Linked DNA regions of Homo sapiens: region 2 is linked to region 1. Evidence: promoter capture Hi-C in human tissues and cell types (Jung and others, 2019). All regions are on one chromosome and are shown on one strand. The core of a region is centred on a gene start or on the middle of the fragment in contact, and the rest is flanking DNA. Distances in the headings are between cores, read along the strand shown.

Region 1 (6,027 bases), core at 702-3,201:
CTCCAGCCTACCTCTCTGTTGCCTTTTAGCATGAGTGCATTTTTTTTCTTCTGTGTGTTCCATATGATACCAATTGATATTTCAGAATTGCACAAGGGTTTCATTGTGAAACTTTGGCTTTCTGGTTTGACTTTATATAATATTGGTCAGTACATGTCCCTTGCCTGAGACAATGTGCACCTTCCTCCTCCACAAAGGGACGTGGCTCACATCACTTGAGCTGTGCGATGATCACTTGGGCAGCGAGGGCGTGAGAAAATATCATTGTATTGTGGTATTAGACACTCGTCCCGCAGGTTAAGTATTATAAGTGTTACTTTACCAGAACGTGAATAGCAACAATAACTCATTTTACAAAAGAAAGAAAGAGAGACAGAAAGAAAGAGAGAGAGAAAGAAAGAAGAAAGAGAAAGGAAGGGAGGAAGGAAGGAAGGGAAAAAAGCAAAACAAAAAAGGTGAGAGAAAAAAGAAAAAGCAAAAGTAGAACTGCATTGCTTAGTCTATTGTAATTTCCTCCATTTTCCTAAAAAGTTAACGCGAAGAAAACAAAATAACGGCAACGTTCCCAGGATTTCAAATCTCATGAGTCCAGAATCCGTGAAAATCCTGTTTAAAATCATCCGGTGAAATTGGCTTTGGGACGTCTCCCCAGCTACTGGATCATGTGGCTTCTGAATCTTTCTAACAATCGTCCCGTTGGATGTCCCCTGAGGACAGAGCAGCTGGCTAGAGTCCCCAGACCAGACTTCTCTAAGTGAATGTAGATGTGCAGGTGGAGAGGATAAAAGTAATTCTGGCTCAGCAGCCACGAATTCCCTCCACCTCCGCCCCACAAGTGCGCTGCATATCGCCGGCTCAGCTGGGACGCTACAGAGCCCAGACCACGCGGACGCTGCCCCCTCCCCGGGGACTCAAAGTGTGGCCGGCGCCCGCCTCCCAGTGATGCCATCTTTCTTGGGGTCTTAGCATCTTACCAGTGGGTAGTGAGTTTTGCATTCGAATCACGTCCCTCTGTCTGAAAACTTACCCCAACTTTGCAAACAGATGAGAACCTGCTAGTGGGAACCCTTAATTTTCTGTATCTAGAACTGACAAAATCAGACGCAATTCACAAGAAACCCACGACCTCGCGCTCCCTTGCTCCCAGCGTCCGCTCGCGGGCACCCTGGGTTTCCCGCTCGCCTGGGCGCAAGGTCAGACGCCCCGCGGCGACCTCGGCCCAGAGCCGCCCAGACACTGTCAGCCAGCGCCCCGTGGGGGGCTGGAGGGTGGGGGCAGGCTGGTCCAGGCAGGAAGGGTAGAGGAACCCGAGCAACTTACAGCCCAGGGCGACCACCAGGTAGCGCAGCAGCAGCAGGAGGAGGCGGTGGCGGCTCCTCCTCGCCATCTTCCCGGGGCGGCAGCCGGCTGCTCTGAGGAGGTCGAGGGTCCCGGCGGCAGGAGCGCAGGAGGCCGGGGGCCCTTGAACTTCTGGGGCGGGAAAGGAGCAGAGAGTCGGGAGGGGAGGAAGAGGAGGGACGGCTCTAGATGGGATGTCAGTTTCCCCCTCCCCGGGGCGCCTTCTCAGCTGGCTGCCAAGAGGCGGGTCCTCCAGCCCAGGGATGGGGGTCTGTTCTGTTTTGGGGGTGTGGGGGTAGGGGCTAGAGGGCGTGAAAACCAGACGAGGCGTCCGCCGGGTCCTAGCGAGGGGGCAGCAGGAGGAGAGCAGCGCCCGGGAAAGCCCCGGCGGGTCGTCCCTCCGCCCCCACGCCTCCGGGATTGATCGGCTTTGTGTCTGGTCCGCGCGGGGCTGCCAGCTGTCCCCAGGGCGAGGAGCTGGGGGCGGGAGGCGCGGGCAGGCTGGGGGTGGGGGGATTGGGTGTCTCGGGGACGGGGATGTATGCGGGTAGGGAAACGCCTCCTGTTTTGCCCCAACTCCTTTCTTCCCCTCGTTGGCTCAAAACTTCTTTCTGGCTTTTCAGCCTAGGGGTGGAGATATTTGGAAAATTCTGCCCAACGGGCGAAGCTGAGGGGGTGGCGCTCTGAGGAGATGGGGTTCGCGGGCTCCGCCTCGAACTCGAGAAAAAAAAAAGCAATCAAGACTCGTGCTGGAAGTCAGGTCTCAGATTTTAGTACAGCCTTGGTCCCTTCTCAGTTTAAGCTTTTTGCTCCTTGGAGATTTGAGGTGCATTTGTCTCGCGTTCTTGTTCTTTGCTTTTTTTTCAGTGTCAGAGTTGGAAGTTCATCTAATGGTGTGAAATATTTATCATGTTTCTTTCAAGTTACATAACTGCTGCTTGTGGAGTTTTCCACGTGTTAAAACTCTACAGCTGCCCTTTGTCAGGTTTATTTTTGGTCTACTGTGCTTTTAAAAGGGAAACCCATTATGAATGCTCTGTTGCGTGCTTTAAAATTGCACCACACTTACATTGGACGCACGTACACTGGCAATTTTTATATTTGTTCCTAGGGACCAAAAATGTATGGTGTATTCAAGAGTATTGGCAGGTCTGGAAAAAGGCCATTCCCAGGAGAAGAAATTAGTATACATCAGTTTTTTTCTTTTGTTTTTTTGTTTGTTTTTGTTTTTGTTTTTTTTTAAAGGTTGAATAATGGATGAAGTTCTGTACAGCAGATAGTTGATTTAGTGGTGTATTTAAAAAGAATTCAGCTAGCTCAGTGGACAAAGGCGACCAGAGTTTAGCTGTGCAGAACTGTGAGGAATGAGGCATCCTTGCTGTTGCCGTGGTGACAGTGATGAAAACTTAGTACCCAGGGAGGGGGTGGGAGGAGAGGACCCAGGGGACCCAGAAAGGAAAGTCAAAATGGCAAAATGTTAAAACTCGTACTCCAGTCAACCGAGGAGAAGGGGCACAGATTTAACAACAGCTTATGCCAGTTTTTCTGGGCAGTAATGAGAAGGATTTGATGCTTAAAAAGAAAAGTTGTTGGCATCTTCTTTTTTCTAATTCTTGCTACAGCTATATGTCTTTTACTCCTCCCTAAAAATATACACAAAAATGTCATACTTAAAAAAATTCTATGCAATCCTATGTGAGTAACTGACTAAGTTATTTATTTGCCACCCAGCCAAGGCATTTGACAAATGGCAACAATGTGCTGGATGCTGAAGGACAACCATGAACAAGATAGAGGCTTTCTTGCTAACAAGCTCACAGTCTTGAGGGGAGACAGAGTCTTATCAGGAAAGATGCCTGATACCACATGGTAAATGTTACAGGAGGACAGAAAATAATAACAGCTATTTTTATTGCATGCTTTCTCAGTGATGGAGTCTGAATAACGCAATATCTAATCCCCCAACAACTCCATAAAAGAGGAAATGTTATCATTCCCACTTTGCAGATGAGAAAACTGGGCGGAGAGACACTAAATGGCTTGTCCAAGGTCCATGATAAGGGGCTGTTCCTTTTGTTGGGAGTGGGGCCAGGGCTTTCTTTATTAAACCTTGAAAAATGGGTCAAATTCTGAAGGGAAGGACATAAAGGAGAGGCATTCTACATAGAGGAAACAGCAGGATCCAGAGCTAGGAGATTGAAAAATTATGGTTTATTTAGAAAAAGCAAGGTTCTACAGTACTAAAGTGTATGTGGGATCGGGATAGTGAGGTAGGTGGTGGTGGTGGTAGAAACTGAAGGGGAGGTTAGAGTACGAAGAGCATTCACGCTACTGTCTAGACCTCATCCTACAGCTAATGAGCTTTTTGAAAGCAATGAGATAAGAAAAGACTCATATTTTAGAACTGTGGTGTCCAATATGGTAGCCTATAGATCTAAGTGGCTATATACATTTTTTTTGTTTTGTTTTTAATTTGAGACAGAGTCTCACTTTGTCACACAGGCTGGAGTACAGTGGTGCAATCTCAGCTCACTGCAACCTCCGCCTCCCAGGTTCAAGTGATTCTCCTGCCTCAGCCTCCTCAGTCCAGTAGATGGGACTACAGGCATGTGCCACCATGCAGGCTAATTTTTGTATTTTTTGTAGAGATGGGGTTTCGCCATGTTTGCCAGGCTGGTCTCGAACTTCTGACCTCAGATGATCCACACGCCTTGGCCTCCCAAAGTGCTGGAATTACAGGTGTGAGCCACCATGCCTGGCTGGCTATATAAATTTGAATTCAATTATATGTAAAATGCAGTTCTCCACTGACACTGATCACATATGAATTTCTCAATAGTCACATGAGGGTAGGGGCTACCATATTGGAAAATGTATTTCCATCATTGCAGGAAGTTCTACAAGAGAGTGCTGCTCTAGAATGATGACTCATATTGAAATGTGCAGGATGGATTACAGAAAAGAGAATCAGGGTGTTAGTCAAGTCTAAACTATTACAATATCCTGAGAAAGAGACCAAGTTGTGAAGTAAATGGTCACCGTGTGATAAATGAAAAACCGGGTGGATTCAGATGATATTTCACAAACATGGTCAACAGGATTATGTTATCAGCTAGATGTAGGGGTGAGAAAGGAGAGAACATGTAGGTATCAGATTTCTAGCATAGGTGGCTGTATGTGGAGGTTATAAATAGTGTCATTAAAGGAATAAGAAACATAGAGGGCATACATAATTCCTGCAGGTTTGGGATGAGTTGAGAGAGAGAAATATAGCTGGGGTGACCAGTAGACTGTTAGAATGAGTGCTCTAGAGAACAGGAAACCCTCAGGATTGACTAAAGAAATAAATATAAATATTAGCAGCATCTTCTAGAACAGTGATCACTGGACTATCTTCTCCCCAGAATCCTTTGGAGCTCCTTCATTATGATTCTTTCCTTAAAATTATGTTAAAATTCTGAGTTTCAGAAGTTTTAATCTCAGCAGCCCCAGGAAGCTGTATTATTAACAAGTACCTTGATTAATTCTGATGCAACGAATCTATGGATTATTGTTTGAGGAACTTTCTAGAAGGCAGGAGCAGTGAATGAGATCAATCAGACAAAGAAGTGAATGTTTATGGATAAATCTAAGGAAATAACTGCAGTAAGAGGTAGGAAGAGAAAGAACCCAGAGAAAGAACACAAGAAAGAGCAGTCAAAAAGTACAAAAGGAACTGGGAGAGAATCAGGAGCTAAAGGTGGAGGTGTTTGTACAGTCCAAGGCTAAAAAGAGGGTTGAGAATTGTCTCTTGTATTTAGTGTCTATGAGGGTATTGCCCACATGGATAATAGAGAAAGCAAGCCTCCAAAAAACATGTAGAAAAAATTTGCAGACTTGAGTTTTATACTTAGTAAAGCAACTAATGCATAAGATATATTAAAAATATTTAAAAATTTTTTTAATTATTATGGGTACATAATAGTTTTATATATTTATGGGGTACAGGTGATGATTTGATACAAGCATACAGTGTAGCAAGCAGGGTAATTGGAATATCCACGTCCTCAAGCATTTATCATTTCTTTGTGTTAGGAATATAACCACCCAATGGGTTCACCTTGCCCGATGCCCAGATAGAGCTGATTTATCAAGACAGGGCAATTGTAATGGTGAAAGAGTCATTCACGCAGAGCTGGCTGTGTGGAAGATGGAGTTTTATCATTACTCATATCAGTCTCTCTGCATTCAGGGATCAGAGTGTTTAAGGATAATTCTTGGTAGGTGAGGGAAAGACCAGTGGGTCGAGAGTGCTGATTGGTTGGGTTGGAGATGAAATCATAGGAAGTTGAAACTGTCCTCTGTGCTGAGTCAGTTCCGGGTGGGGGCCACAAGATCAGATGAGCCAGTTTCTCCGTCGGGGTGGCACCAGCTGATCCATCAAGTGCAGGGTCTGCGAAATATCTCAAACACTGATTTTAGGAGCAGTTTATGGAGGGTCAGGATCTTACAGCCTCCGCCTGAATGACTCTTAAACCATAATTTCTAATCTCGTGGCTAATTTGTTAGTCCTACAAAGGCAGTCTAGTCCCCAGGCAAGAAGGGGGTTTGTTTTGGGAAAACGTTGTCACCATCTTTGTGTCAAACTATAAACAATGAACTAAGTTCCTCCCAAAGTTAGTTCAGCCTACGCCCAGGAATAAACAAGAT
Region 2 (6,401 bases), core at 928-3,427, 140 kb before region 1:
AAGGGGTCCAATGGTACTCACTGCTTGGCGATAGGCGATGGTCTCACCGCTCAGCGACAGGCAAAAGTCCCTTCGTGGTCGCCAAAACGTGTCCGGAATTGGTGGGTTCTTGGTCTTACCAACTTCAAGCATGAAGCCGTGGACCCTGGCGGTGTTACAGTTCTTAAAGGCGGCGTGTCCGGAGTTTGTTCCTTCTGATGTTCGGATGTGTTCCGAGTTTCTTCCTTCCGGTGTGTTCATGGTCTACGCTGGCTCAGGAGTGAAGCTGCAAACCTTCAGTGAGTGTTACAGCTCTTAAGGTGGCGCAGCTGGAGTTGTTCGTTCCTCCTGGTGGGTTTGTGGTCTCACTGGCTTCAAGAGTGAATCTGCGGACCTTAGCGGTGAGTGTTACAGCTCATAAACGCAGCTGGACCCAGAGTGAGCAACAGCAACACTTATTGCAAAGACGGAAAGAACACACCTCCTCACACTACAGAAGCGGACCACAGCGAGTTGCTACTGCTCATTCGGGCAGCCTGCTTTTATTCTCTTATCTGGCCCCACCCACATCCTGCTAATTGGTCCATTTTACAGAGAGCTGATTGGTCTGTTTTACAGAGAGCTGATTGGTCCATTTTGACAGGGTGCTGATTGGTGCGTTTAGGAACCCTGAGCTAGACACAAAAGTTCTCCAAGTCCCTACTACATTAGCTAGATACAGAGTGTGGATTGGTATATTTACAAATCCTGAGCTAGACACAGAGTGCTGATTGGTGCATTTACAAACCTTGAGCTAGATACAGAGTGCTGATTGGTGTATTTACAATCCCTTAGCTAGACATAAAGATTAGCCAAGTCCCCACCAGACTCAGGAGCCCAGCTGGCTTCACCCAGTGGATCCCGCACCGGCTGCAGGTGGAGCTGCCTGCCAGTCCCACGCCCTGCGCAAGCACTCCTCAGCCCTCGTGCGGTCGATGGGCCTGGGCGCCGTGGAGCAGGGGGCGGCGCTCGTCAGGGAGGCTCGGGCCGCGCAGGAGCCCACAGAGAGAGAGGGGGGAGGCTCAGGCATGGCAGGCTGCAGGTCCCGAGCCCTGCCCCCGGGGAGGCAGCTAAGGCCCGCACGAGAAATCTAGCACAGCAGCTGCTGGCCCAGGTGCTAAGCCCCTCACTGCCTGGGGCGGCAGGCCGCTCTGAGTGCGGGCCCGCGGAGCCCACGCCCACCCGGAACTCGCGCTGGCCCGCAAGCGCCGCGGGCAGCCCGGGTTCCCGCCCGCGCCTCTCCCTCCACGCTTCCCCGCAAGCTGAGGGAGCCGGCTCCGGCCTTGGCCAGCCCAGAAAGGGACTCCCACAGTGCAGCGGCGGGCTGAAGGGCTCCTCAAGCGCGGCGAGAGTGGGCGCCAAGGCCGAGGAGGCTCCGAGAGCGAGTGAGGGCTGCGAGGGCTGCTAGCAGGCTGTTACCTCTCGCCAGCACTTTGGGAGGCCAAGTTGGCCAGATCACTTGAGGTCAGGAGTTCGAGACCAGCCTGGCCAACATGGTGAAACCTCATCTCTATAAAATACAAAAATTAGCCAGATGTGGTAGCTCACACCTGTAATCCCAGCTACATGGAAGACTGAGGCAGGAGAATTGCTTGAACCTGGAAGGTGAAGGTTGCAGTGAGCCGAGATCGTGCCACTGCACTGCAGCCTGGGCAACAGAGTGACTCTGTCTCAAAAACAAACAAAAATCCTCTATTTTTATGATTTGAGAGCTGGAGACAAGAATCCTAGTATGGAGTTCTTAATGCATAGCTTTTTCCTTTAACCATTAAGTCAAATGAACATTCTAGTTCAACTATTCAGTGATGTTTATCAGTGTATTAATATGCAATATGCCCTCTCATTCACAAAGTAAAACCAACATTAGAGATAGGAAGCTTACTTTCTCTATTCGTACTGTGAGTATTAGAGCAAACCTTTTTGCATAGTTTTCTAAGGAAGTGAATTAAAGAGTTGCTCATAGATATGATAAATAACTTTTTCTTCAGTGTTCTATTTCATTCATGTCTAGTTACTGTGGTGTTACCTATAAAAATAGCATAGGTGCTAACTGGGTGTTACTAGTATCATGGAAATAAGATTCCCAAATCAACTATCTTGTTAGCAGACATGAGAAAATGCTTTTCTCACATTACAGCCGGGCATGGTGGCTCATGCCTGTAATCCCAGCACTTTGGGAGGCTCAGGCAGGCAGATCACTTGAGCTCAGGAGTTCAAGACCAGCCTGGCCAACATGGTGAAACCCTGTCTCTACTAAAACTACAAAAATTAGCTGGGCGTGGTGATGCAGGCCTATAATCTCAGGTACTGGGGAGGCTGAGGCAGGAGAATCGCTTAAACTCAGGAAGTGGAGGTTGCAGTGAGCCAAGATCAAGCCACTGCGCTCCAGCCTGGGTAACAGAGTGAGACTCTCAGTCTCAAAAAAAAAAAAAAAAAAGGTTTACAGAGAAATTTTCAAATACCATTAACATTGCCATAATCGTTCAGTTAAAACTGATGCTCATCAGTTGATGAAATGTTGTAGATCAGTGTGGTCAGTCCGTGAACTGTTTGTCATCAGTCCACAGGGAGATAAGAGCAAGCATTAAAACAATTTTGATAATTTGATATAGCAATCTTATGCTTGTGGAATCTAATAATTTTTAAAAAGTGGTTATGTATTTTTGTCTTTTAAATTTCATTTCTCTAGTAATTCAGTTTTTAAGCTTATTGAGGTGAAATTTACATAACCCCATGCACCTATTTTAAGTATACATTTAGATGAGTTTTGACAAATCTGTTCATCCATGTAATCGTCAACAAAGCATAATATAGGCTATGCTCATCATCCTCCCAAATTTCTTTATGCCTAATCCAGGAAATCAACCATTATCCCTAGCCCTAGGCAACCAGTGATCTGCTTTCTATCCTTACAATGAGATTTGCCTTTTCCAGAGTTGTTGATGAGGCAGTTGTTCACTCCCTTTTATTGCTGAGTCGTACTTCTGTTCTATGGGTATTCATAATTTGTTTATTCAGTCACCTGCTGATGGATATTTGTGTTAACAGTTTGGAGACATTATGAATAAAGCTGTTATAAACATTCGTGTACAAGTCTTTCAGTGAACATATTTTATTTCTCTTAAATAAATGTCTAGGATTGGGCCAGCCACGGTGGCTCATACCTGTAATGCCAGCACTTTGGGAGGCCTAGGCGGGCAGATCACCTGAGGTCGGGAGTTCGAGACTAGCCCGGCCAACGTGGCAAAACTCTGTCTCCACTAAAAATACAAAAATTACCCGGACTTGATGGCTGGTGCCTGTAATCCCAGGTACTTGGGAGGCTGAGGCAGGAGAATCACTTGAACCTGGGAGGTGGAGGTTGCAGTGAGCCGAGATCGCACCATTGCACTCTAGCCTGGGTGACAAGAGTGAAGCTCTGTCTCAAAAAAATAAATACATAAAATAAATGCCTAGGATTAGAATTGCTGTGTCGTGACAAAAGTGTTTAACTTTTCCAAAGTAGTGTGCCATTTTACATTTCCACTAGCAATGTGTGTGACTTCATTTGGTCCATGTCATTGAGAACAGTTGGTATTGTGAGTCTTTTAACTTTTAGCAGTTGTAATGTGTTTTTAGTGGTACTGGATTGTGACTTGGTATTTCGTGATAACTAATAATGCCAAATAGCTTTTCATATGCTTACTGGCCATATGTATATCTTTTTTTATGAAGTGTCTGTACAAATCCTTTGACCATAAATTATTTGATTATCTTAGTGAGTTAAAAGAATTTATCATATATTTTGATATTAAATATCTTACCTTTGTAAGATATTAATATTGCCATAATCATTCAGTTACAACTGATGCTCATTGCTTAATGACAAAATATTATAAATCAGTGTGGTCAATACACTTATCTTACCTTTGTAACCTAGGTAAGATAAGTGTATTGCAAATATTTTCTTCCAATCTGTACCTTGTCCTTTATTTAATTTTCTTTTCTTTTTTTTTTTTTTTTTTTTGAGACAGGGTCTTGCTCTCTCACCCAGGCTAGAGTGCACTGGTATGATCATAGCTTATTATAACCTCAAACTCCTGGACTCAAACAGTGTTCCTGCCTCAGGCTTCTGAGTAGCCAGAACTACAGGTCCATGCTACCAAGGTTGGCTAATTAAATTTTTTTTTTTCATAGAGAGGGGGTCTCACGATGTTGCCCAGGCTGGTCTCAAACTCCTGGGTTCAAGCAGTCCTCCCCAGTCAGCCTCCCAAAGCAATGAAATTACAGGCATGTGTCACTACACCCAGCCTTGCCTTTTATTTTAATAGTATCTTTCAAATAACAGGTGTTTTAAAAATTTTTGATGAAGTCCAATTTACTGTCTTTTTTTTTTTTTATTAGATACAGCGTCTCACTCTGTCACCCCCAGACTGGAGTGCTGTTGTAGCGGCAGAATCATACCTCACTGTAACCTCAAACTCAACCTGCACTTGAACCTCGAATTTTAACCTGGGCTCAAGCAATCCTCCCTCCTCAGCCTTCTGAGTAGCTGGAACTACAGCCGTACACAACCATGCCCAGCTAATTTTATTTTAACTTTTATATTTTTGTAGAGATAGGGTCTTGCTATGTTGCCCAGGCTGGTCTCAAAACTCATGGCCTCAAGTAATCTTCCTGCCTCAGCTTTCCAAAGCACTGTATTTACAGGTATGAGCCACCACATCCAGCCTAGTTTTGCTTCTTTAATATCTAGGAAATCTTTATCTACCCCAAGGTTATGAAAATTCCTTAATAAGTTTTAGATTTTATATTTAGGTCTATAATCCATTGTTTTTATGTGTGGTATGAGGCAAGGGTTTTTCTCCATGAATATATGCAGTTGTTCTAACATTTGTTGAAATAACTACCCTTTCCCTATTGAATTACCTTGGCACCTTTGATTTTGGCACCAAAAATCAATGAGCCATATATGTGGGTCCATTTCTGGATTCTATTCTGTTCATTGACCTATATACATTTATCCTTACCTAAATACCACCTCTTGATTGCTGTAGCTTTATATAGCAAAGCTTTATATAGCACAGTGCAAGTTCTCTTTTTCCAAAATATTTTGGCTATTCTGTGTCATTTGTATTTACATATAAATTTTATAACTAGCTTGTCTACAAAAAAAGACTGGCAGAATTTTTGTTGTAATTCAATTTATAGGTCAATTTAGGAATAACTAACATTTACAAGATTTACATTTACACAATTGGGTCTTAGGCCAGGCACGGTGCTCACGCCTGTAATCCCAGCACTTCAGGAGGCCGAGCCAGGCAGATCACTTGAGGTCAGGAGTTCGAGACCAGCCTGGCCAACATAGCGAAGCCCCCAACTCTACTAAAAATACAAAAAATCAGCCAGGTGTCATGGGACATGCCTGTAATCCCAGCTATTTGGGAGGCTGAAGCATGAGAATCGCTTGAACCCAGGAGGCGGAGGTTGTAGTGGGCTGAGATCGCACTACTGTACTCCAGCTTGGGTGACACAGTGAGTGAGACTGTCTCAAAAAAAAACAAGAAAACCCAAAATTGAGTCTTCCAATCCAGAATTATGGTGTTATATCTCCACCTACTTAGACATTCTTTCATTTCTTTGCAAGTTCTATAGTTTTCATTGATAGGTCTTGCACAAATTTTGCTCTATTTGTCCCTATTTCACGTTAATATTATTGTAAATGGTGGTTTTTAAATATTAATTTCCATTTATTAGTTTCTAGCACGCAGAAATAAAATTGAACTTCGCATATTGACCTTGTACCTTACCTTGCTATATTCTCATAACTTTTGATTCTTGAGGCGTTTTAACATGTCTGATGCCTTCTGCAGTTTTATTTTTGCAGTATGTATGCTTTTTATTTTTCTTACCTTATTTCACAGACTAGGATACAATTCTGAATAAAAATTATAAAAGCAGGTACCTCTTTGCGTTTCCCAAATCTTGTGGGGAGGGGGGCGGAGTGGTGAGGGGCAACAAACGTGATGTTAGTTGTAGGTTTTTCCACAGATACCTTTTTATCAGGTTAAAGAAGTTCTCTAGTTTGCTGAGAGTTTTAATCATGAATGGATGTCAAGTTGTACATTTTTCTGCATCTATTGAGTTGAATGTGTTCCTCCCCCATTGTATTGTTAATTTGGTAAATACTGAATTTTTAAAATTCTTATAGTAATTCATTCTTTAAAAAAAAAACTCAACTGTGGTAAAATATACATAATATGAAATTTACCATCTTAACCATCTTTAATACGGTTTGGTATTGTTAAGCATGTTTATAGTTGTGTAACCATCTTGTTTTTCATCTTGCAAAACTGAAACTCTATGCCCATTAAACAGTAACTTCCCATTTCCCCCTCCCTGTA

The links. Contacts are between HindIII fragments. The study calls those that stand out against the background at their distance.
Region 2: a contact is called between a fragment that was not itself captured here and the fragment with the promoter of JAM2 in region 1, in 2 of the 25 tissues and cell types used here (lymphoblastoid cells and thymus).

Annotation. Positions count from the first base shown.
Region 1 is chr21:25,635,182-25,641,208 of GRCh38, reverse strand. It overlaps JAM2 (junctional adhesion molecule 2), which reads right to left and starts at 1,951. Exons shown (of 10, transcript NM_021219.4): 1 at 1,321-1,951. The coding sequence starts at 1,387. RefSeq lists enhancers at 969-1,038, 941-1,441, 2,179-2,318 and a silencer at 1,769-1,958. The HindIII fragment of the contact is 5,846 bases long and covers 950-6,027 here.
Region 2 is chr21:25,773,227-25,779,627 of GRCh38, reverse strand. No RefSeq gene overlaps it. Among named protein-coding and RNA genes, the nearest start is that of GABPA, 41 kb to the right of the region's middle. The HindIII fragment of the contact is 3,438 bases long and covers 459-3,896 here.